3 separate regions of the Homo sapiens genome follow, and regions 1 and 2 are each linked to region 3. The links are contacts of gene promoters, found by promoter capture Hi-C in blood cells and fetal thymus (Javierre and others, 2016). All regions are on one chromosome and are shown on one strand. Each heading gives the region's core, a stretch centred on a gene start or on the middle of the fragment in contact. The rest is flanking DNA. Distances are from core to core; before and after follow the strand shown. Region 1 overlaps PCF11 (PCF11 cleavage and polyadenylation factor subunit). Region 2 has its middle 18 kb from the start of PCF11. Region 3 holds the start of ANKRD42 (ankyrin repeat domain 42).

Evidence for each region. Contacts are between HindIII fragments. The CHiCAGO score rates a contact against its expected background, and 5 or more counts as called.
Region 1: a fragment that was not itself captured here is called in contact with the fragment with the promoter of ANKRD42 in region 3 in 9 of 17 cell types (monocytes, total CD8 T cells, fetal thymus and 6 more); the score reaches 12.0 in monocytes.
Region 2: a contact is called between a fragment that was not itself captured here and the fragment with the promoter of ANKRD42 in region 3, in 1 of 17 cell types (neutrophils). The highest score is 5.9, in neutrophils.

What each region holds. Positions count from the first base shown.
Region 1 is chr11:83,158,842-83,161,541 of GRCh38, reverse strand. It overlaps PCF11 (PCF11 cleavage and polyadenylation factor subunit), which reads right to left. Exons shown (of 16, transcript NM_001346413.3): 2 at 90-215. Among named protein-coding and RNA genes, the nearest start is that of PCF11, 3.1 kb to the right of the region's middle. The HindIII fragment of the contact is 345 bases long and covers 1,086-1,430 here.
Region 2 is chr11:83,137,731-83,140,493 of GRCh38, reverse strand. No RefSeq gene overlaps it. Among named protein-coding and RNA genes, the nearest start is that of PCF11, 18 kb to the left of the region's middle. The HindIII fragment of the contact is 5,535 bases long and covers 1-2,763 here.
Region 3 is chr11:83,192,347-83,195,046 of GRCh38, reverse strand. ANKRD42 (ankyrin repeat domain 42) reads right to left here and starts at 1,335. Exons shown (of 11, transcript NM_001300975.2): 1 at 319-1,335. The coding sequence starts at 376. ANKRD42-DT (ANKRD42 divergent transcript) reads left to right here and starts at 1,378. Exons shown (of 3, transcript NR_149009.1): 1 at 1,378-1,580. RefSeq lists enhancers at 359-718, 1,239-1,348, 1,409-1,628 and a silencer at 926-1,104. The HindIII fragment of the contact is 14,061 bases long and covers 1-2,700 here.

The DNA.
Region 1 (2,700 bases), core at 9-2,508, 33 kb after region 3:
CCAAGAAAACCCAACACAAAGCAAATATTTATTTAATCAGGAACACATTTTTTAAAAAAAAACGCAAATGTTTCTAAATGCATATGTACCTTTTCAAACACACAAATAAATGTTGCAACTAGATTTTTAGTAAAGGCAGTGAGATACTCTCTTCCAACGTTTTTCACAATAGAATCCATAAGGTACATAACAGGAAGCTTCTCTGAGGAAGGAGCCTGAATAAAAAGAAACTGAGAAGTTTAGTATAATGAATTACCACCAAATAATTATTTAAAAATGAGTTTTTAAACCTACAATACAGACCTCTATTTTTGTTGATACTAAATATTTTTGAAGTAATCTTTATGAAACTTAAGTGTTCAATCAAGCTCTCAACTCTCACAATCCTTAGTTGAGCACAAAAAAGCTCAGAATTACCAGGATGAACAACAGCTGTAATCCCTAATATACTCATTTAACACTCAATGAAATTTCAAGTTCATGTGGTAAAAAGACCTGTGTTTTAAGTGACAAAAATAAGGAGGAGGCGAGGGAAAATTACTTTATATAATCCAAGTGTCAGTTTTGTGACCCATATTAACTTACAACGGTGTGCCTACACTCAAAGCAGTTTTTAGACCTCTTGTAGAAACTAATTTCCATGGGCATATTTTATATGTTCAAGTCTATGAAGCTTTTGTTACCTGTAAAATCATTAGGATTACTTCTCTATAATCCAAATGAACAAAAATTAAAAACACTTCACCTAGGAAGTCAATGGCAAAACACTGAAACTTGCACACGAACATGCAGGAAGTTGCAAGTTTGTTACTCAGACAAGAAAAACTGGATGGAGCAGCCGCTGAATCATGTAAATCAGGTTGAACTTGACTCTGGAAACCAGGATTTGTCCTGAAGATTTTCTTCACAGCCTGGACTCTCCGCCGAGATATTTTCCTCTGACATGCACAAACCAGGGGTTATAAATTTGTGCAGAGCCAGTGTGGTGATGCTGATACAGGTGGCCCTTTCCAAAGTAAAGAAATGTTGCCCCAGTTCAACTGCAATGCCTACCCACCACTGGCTTTTAGAAGGCACAGCAAGCTTCCAGAAAGCATCAGCAGGTTCACAGACTTGTTGAGGAGCATTAAGACACACCATAATAGTTTTAACTCTGACTCCAAAGGAGCACCCATGATTTAAAATAAAAAAAAAAGACAAAAAAAAAAAAAAAAAAAAAACTTAGGTTATCCCCATTTACCCACCCCACGTGTATAGGAATCTTAACCCTAAGTAACACTTACCCATAGCTGCCTGAAGCTAGGGTAGGCTCACAGTTCTGGAGTACACAATGCCATCATATATAATAAAACCAATTGCCCATACAAGTGTGTGGAAATGCTCTTGCTTCTGATAACACCTTTACAACCAAAAGTTGGCTAAGGGAAGCTTTGAATAACTTTGTATGAAAAATTTCTTTTAAGGTACTGTCTAATAAAAGGGTTCACCCACTGCATGTGGGTCAACTATATTAAGTACGAACATGTCAAATGGTTTACTGCTGTGTCTTTACCTTACCATGTCATGTTTTACACCATTTTAGTCATTATTGTACTTATGAAGATAAACAGGCTCTCTTAAACACCAAAGTCTGTTAAGTAGGCTAATTTTTTATTGTACAAGTGAAGTCCTTTTATGTATTATTTTTCGCTACTGCTCTCTCTTGGGAGGAGTCAAATTAAGTGTGAATCCTTTAAGTTTAGTAACGCAGAGAAGCTAAAGAATAAGGACACAAACATTCACCTCCAAAACACAAAACCAGGCCAGTTTGCTACCAAATAACGGAAATCCCTCCCCTCACCCTCGATCCCAACCCAGATTAAGATAGATCCCCCAAAGTGACTTTTACATCTTTTCCTCAACCTGGCTTTACAAAAATAACCAGGAAACGTGTGCCCCCAAAATTTCAGCTGTCTTTTACCAGCAAAGAGCTCATCTATTTTCATCACTGTGTAGCGATATACAAACACAAGTTTTATGTGGTCACTATATTCAGCATTTAGTTTTCGGTTCTCGAAGGTCTTCCGGATCCATTAAAAACCAGCAAGGTTCTTTGAGTGACAACCTGAGCTGCTAAATATTAGGCGCTGTGGAATATTAAATCCCAAGATACGAGGTAATTAGATTTTAAAAATCAATGTTTTTGCCTTAAAAACACAAGTGCTTTAAGGCATTTAATGTCAAGTTAAGCCTTCAACAAGGCAAAAACTAAGTTTTCATGTCCAAGATGTTTGTGGTATCAATAAAAAGCATGTTGAGTATGACGAATGCTTCCTTTTTAAATCTCACACTTAAAAAAAAAAGCTGTTTTACATACACTTTCACAGGAAAAAGTGAACGAAAACTTGTATCTTAGCTGTCAGACTGAGCATGATAAACTTGTTGAGGTCCTTAAAAGGAAAAAGAAAAAAAACCCTTCCTTTTCGTCCTCTTTAAATTATGAAAGGACCACCTGAAACCGTGTATCTTGTGAAGAGGTTTACCCAAAAGAGTGGATGGAACCTAAAGAAGAATGAACCCAAGTCACTTAAAGACTTTTGTTTAAAACACACAACCACGTAGATAAAAATAAGTCTTGGAAACAGATTCTACACCTTACAAAGGTAAATAAAAAAGACAAATACATATTTTATATGTTTTATTCACAAATTTTATAATACC
Region 2 (2,763 bases), core at 191-2,690, 55 kb after region 3:
CTTCCATTGCAATCTTCCCCTGTCTCTTCATACACCCTTCCCACTAAATCATGACTGCCCCTCAGAACTCAGAATCCATTGGCTGAGTTGTTAAATTCTTTAGCCTACTAGAGCAAATCAAAGTAAGACTCAAAAGATCAGAGCAAAACAAAATGAGTGTGATGCTGTTTCTTTCTTTTTTTTTCGTTTTCTTTCTTTCCTTTTTTTTTTTTTTTTTTTGAGATGTAGTCTTGCTCTGTCGCCCGGTCTGGAGTACAGTGGCTCGATCTTGGCTCACTGCAACCTCCGCCTCCCGAGTTCAAGTGATTCTGCTGCCTCAGTCTCCCAAGTAGCTGGGGTTACAGGTGAGCCACCATGCCTGGCTAATTTTCATATTTTTAATAGAGAAGGGATTTAGCCATGTTGGGCAGGCTGGTCTCGAACTCCTGACCTCAAGTGATCTGCCTGCCTTGGCCTCCCAAAGTGCTGGGATTACAGGCATTAACCACTGCGGCCAGCTATGTCTCTTATCATACTCTGAAGAGACACAATTTTGAGAGGCTGAGAGGAGGAGTCTTCCACATGCTGGAGCCATTTAGCCCAAGTTTCAAGGACAAAAAGGCCTCAGATTTTGGCTGTTGTTTGGCGTAGAATTTTCAAAGGGGAGGGAAAGGCCTTATTGTAAATATTAATACTAAATACATACGAATCCCTATGACAAGCTATGTCAAAGGGAAGAAGACTGATTCAAGAAGACTGACTTCAAAATTTGAAAGCTGCTCCAGCTTCACAGAGGCTCTTTCAAGATCTAAGAATGGAGAGCAGACCAAAACTACTGCATATTTATCTACGTGCCTCGAGAACTGGGAGGAGAATTTTACGGGGATTATTGTTGTCTTAAAAAGGACAAACTCTCCACTTGGACAGTTTTAAATTTGTTCTTGCCTAATAGTATAGTTTACAAAAAGAGCTTTTGTCCACAGTTGTTGACTTGAGCTTCACAACAGCCCTGTGAGGTCTTTATGTCCCAATTTATAGATGAGGCGTCAGATGTTCAAAGGGGCTACGGTTGCTGGGTAGGAAGCTCCAGGACTGGGACCAGAATCCAGGTTGTCCTTCTCTTGGTGCAGCGCAGCTTGAGCTTTTATTTCCCACTAAACATGTAATCCAAAAGTGCCTTTACAGTTTTTATTTCCCACTAGCAGATTCAAACCACATCCTCAGATCTGTGATCTTACTAAGAACTTGGCAAACATACACCGAGTCTGACCATTAGCCAGGCATTAGGCTAGGTCCTAAGAACACAGAGTTAAGTAAGTCATATACTTTACCCTTCAGGTCCCAGAATCCAGTCTAAGAGGCAGACATACAAACAATTAGTTGTAATGTAGCATGCTAAGTGCTATAATTCAATTAAGAATTGGATATAGAGTTGAGTAAAAGAAAGATCGGCTCTACTTGTGGTGACTGGGGTAGAGTCTCCTGGAGAAGGTGATGATTAAGGGAAAACTTTAGAAATAAGTAGTAGTGTGTCTGGTGGGCAAGGGGGAAAAGACATTCTTGGCAATATGAACAGTTCATGCAAAGGCATAGAAGTATAAGACAGTATGAATTCAGTGTTTCATTATACACTAATGGGTGCAAAAGTTATACTTCCTAATGTGACTCTTTTGAATCAGCAGTGCCCACTCCTTGCAGTGCAAACTGCAGTTTGCAGTTCCTGGCACCATTCATTTATTTAGAAAATATTTACTGAACCCCTACTATATGGTGAGCACTGTTCAAGGAGCTGGGGATACAAAAAGCCAAGAAAAGTCCCTGTCCTTAAAAAGTCTAGTGGGAAGAAACAGGCAGTAAAAAATAAAAAATAATACGTTAGGGGTTGATAAGGGTTTTGTAAAGAGGTACCTGCCACCACCACAGAGAAGATCAGCTCTGGAAATACATTATTCAAGATTAGTTTGGCTACACATAACAGAAAAATCCAATACAGGAGAGACTTACACAATGCAGAATTTATTTCTCATGTAAAAGAAGTCTTGAGATAGATGGTTATGGCAAGTTATCAGACTATCAGAGGCCCAAGCCCCTTCTCTCTAGTCCACATCCTTAACAGGTGGCTTTAATCCTTATGTTCCAGGACAGATGCTGGAACTCCAGGAATCCTATCATCATCTAGACAGCAGGATGGAGAAATAAAGAAGGGTGGGCCTTCTTCCTTTTAAAGAGATGTAAGGATCGGCCGGGCGCGGTGGCTCACACCTGTAATCCCAGAACTTTGGGAGGCTTAGGTGGGCAGATCATGAGGTCAGGAGTTCAAGACCAGACTGGTCCACATGGAATACAAAAATTAGCCGGGCGTGGTGGTGCACGCCTGTAATCCTAGCTACTCAGTAGGCTGAGGCAGGAGAATTGCTTGAACCCAGGAGGCGGAGGTTGCAGTGAGCTGAGACCACGCCACTGCACTCCGGCCTGAGTGCAGAGAGATACTCCGTCTCAGGAAAAAAAAAAAAAGAGAGAGATGTAAGAATCATATATCATTTCTAATTGCTTGTGGCCCTACCTAGCTACAAGGGAAACTTGAAGAATAGGGTTTTTCTTTGTTATCATTTTTTGTTATTATTATTTTTTAAGATGGGTAGCAACGGGCCCAGCTAAAAATGAACATTCTGTTACACAGGTTATGTTTTGCATCTAGTCCTCTTTCTGTCTCACAGGTCTTCCTCCTCTGTATTCCTTCTTTAATTATCCTATGCCTTCTCCCTGCCTGGTGCTAATTATACT
Region 3 (2,700 bases), core at 86-2,585:
CCTCCACAGGGTCAAATGCTGCAGGGAAGTCAAGGAAGAACTTAAAAGGGTCCGTCCATTAAGACTGAACAAGAGTTGATGTCAAGCTGGGCAAGAAGACTCGGAGGAATAGTGTGGATGGAAAAAAGGAAAGAAAGCGGAAATAATACAGAACAGGGGAGAGCTGAACAGCTTTGGTATCCCCTGAAAATAAATTAAAAAGGGAAAGGGGGGAGTGACGGCTGAGAAAAGGAAATGCCAGAAAGGGCTAAGGCTGTTGCGGGCTTAAGTGAGAAAAGGAATACGACAGAGATGAAGGCCAATGACAGTCTGACTCACAGGGGTTTGCAGTCTCCCTAGAGGAAGTGGAGGGGCCTGAATTGGCCACCCCGGGCATGGCGCAACACCTCCGACTCTGGGGAGGAGTTGAGTCCAGGCCCCTGATGCTGCGGCGGTCTTCACTTGCTCTCACCCACGAGCCACTGCAGCGGCAGCGGCCCTCTTCTCCGTCGTCACTAGGACGGGGCCCAAGGTCCTCTCTTGCTCTCTCCCAGAAGCTGCAGCGGAAACCTTCGTCTTCACTTTCTCTCTCCCAAAAGCCACTGAAGCGGTAGCTGGCGTCTTCACTGCCGCTCACACCAGAGGAGTCGCTGGCTGCGTAGCCGCGGTCTCCACTTACTTCCTCCCAAGAACTACCAACGCTGTGGCCGCCTTCGACACTCCCTCCCTCCCAGGAGCCACTGAAGCGGCGACTGCGATCGTCACTGACTCTATCCCCGAAGTCACTAGTTCGCGGGTCCCGAATGTCACTGACTCCCTCCCAAGGACCACTGAGGCGGAGGCCTCGGTCTTCTCTGGCTGTTCCCCTGGAGTCGGTAGTTTGGTGGCCTCCAACTTCACTAAAATTCACGTCGCTGCTGCAGAAGGTGCTGTCTCCCCTAACTCTCTCCCAAGAGCAGCTGTGACTGTGGCCACTATCTCCCCTAACTCTCTCCCTAGAGACGCTGCGGCAGTGGCCGAGGTTTTCACTGACCCTTCTCAAGTCACTGCGGGAGAAGCCGGCGTCTGCACTTAGGCTTCCTGCAGCGACCCTGGAGCGGCGGTCGCTCTCTTCACATTTTCTTTCCCCGTCGTCGCTAACTCTTTCCCTAGACTCGGCGCCGGAATGGCCGTGTAGACCGTTTATCCTCCACACGTGGTGGCTAGTGCGGCGGCCACCGTCTTCGTCTGCTACTCCCTGCGAATCGCCGTAGCGGCGGCCGCCTTCCGCTGGTACTTTCTCGGAGTCTCTTTCCAGCCTCCCGACTCCAGCCACTTGGCTGGAGAGGCAGCAGGGCCGTCGCCTTGGAAACGAGTACACTTCCGACGTGCTGAGGTCATTTCCCGTTCCTCACGGCCCACGCTACTTCCGGTTTCCTTTCCCTCAGCTATTCCATGGCTTTTCGTGTGGACAAATCGGGAGGTGGTGTAAACTGGTTTTTGGTGAAATTCGGCTCGGCCTCATGCGAACCTATCTAGGTCCGTCTCTGGAGTGGCCTGTCATCGATCGCGCCCTCCATCGCTGAGCGACACAAGTGGAACCCCCCAGGACTGCATTCTGCGTAGGTGACCTGTGTGGCGCGGGCCGGGCGGGGCCTTTTTGTCCTTGGGCAAACGTGGTATACTTTCTCAGTGGTGGTTGGAAGGAAATTTGTTGCCCTGTCATTTCGCAAGTATGGAAAAAGACCTAAAGGAGAATTTAGCAGCTGCAGCCGCTGTTTTTATTGCGTACTTTACTAGCGCCAACTCTTTAATAATCGCTTGTTAGTTGTTACCCCTGTTTTATGGGTCAAGAGACTCAATATATCAGTACTTTGGTAAGGCCAGGCAGCAGGTAAGTTGTAAAACCAGTAAAAAAACACAGGTCATTAGTCAAAAGAGTGCTTCAGGTCTCCTGACTCCAAATCCGAGAATCCTTTCACTGTAGCATGTTTACTGCTCAAATATTTCTACAACCCTATTGCTTAACAACAGGAATGAATTATTTCACCATTTGTTGCAAACGTATGGGTCACGTTTTGTGCCAGCAGCAGAAAATACAGAAATTAGTAAGAATTACCTGCCCTCCAGGGGCATCACCAACCTGGATTCCCCTCTCGGCCCAGTTTTTCCACCCTTATTGCCTTCTCCCTTCAGGAATAATGAACTCGTCCTGGAAGCGTACCTTACTTTTTAATATCTCTGCCTTGTCATGTGCTGTTCGTCTTACCAGGAAACTACCCTGCTTTTCCCCCAGTTTTGGTCTGTGAACACATTTGGGAAATTCTTCTGATCCTACCGCTACTCTCTTGAGGTACAGTAAATTGTCTTTGACTTCCATCACCTTTTGTAATATTACAATTGCCATCTACTGAGTTCCTATGATCTGCCTGGCATTGTACTAAGTGCTTTATATTTTCTTGTTCATTTTTTTATGCCAACATAAATGAGTTTGACTCAATTCTTATTATAACCTGCCAAAATAAGTATTCCTCTTCCTTTTTACAGAGAGAGAAACAAGGGAAAAAAAAGTTAATTGCCTGAGGATATACTGCTAGTGTTGCGGGACAAATAGAGACGGGAGAGGCCAAACAGAATTCAGGACAACCCTTTATTATTAAGGTGATCACTGGCTCAGTCGGACTGGGGTCCAGAAAGTCTGAGCCCGGAACAAAGGGATCAATCACCTTTTAAGCAATTTGT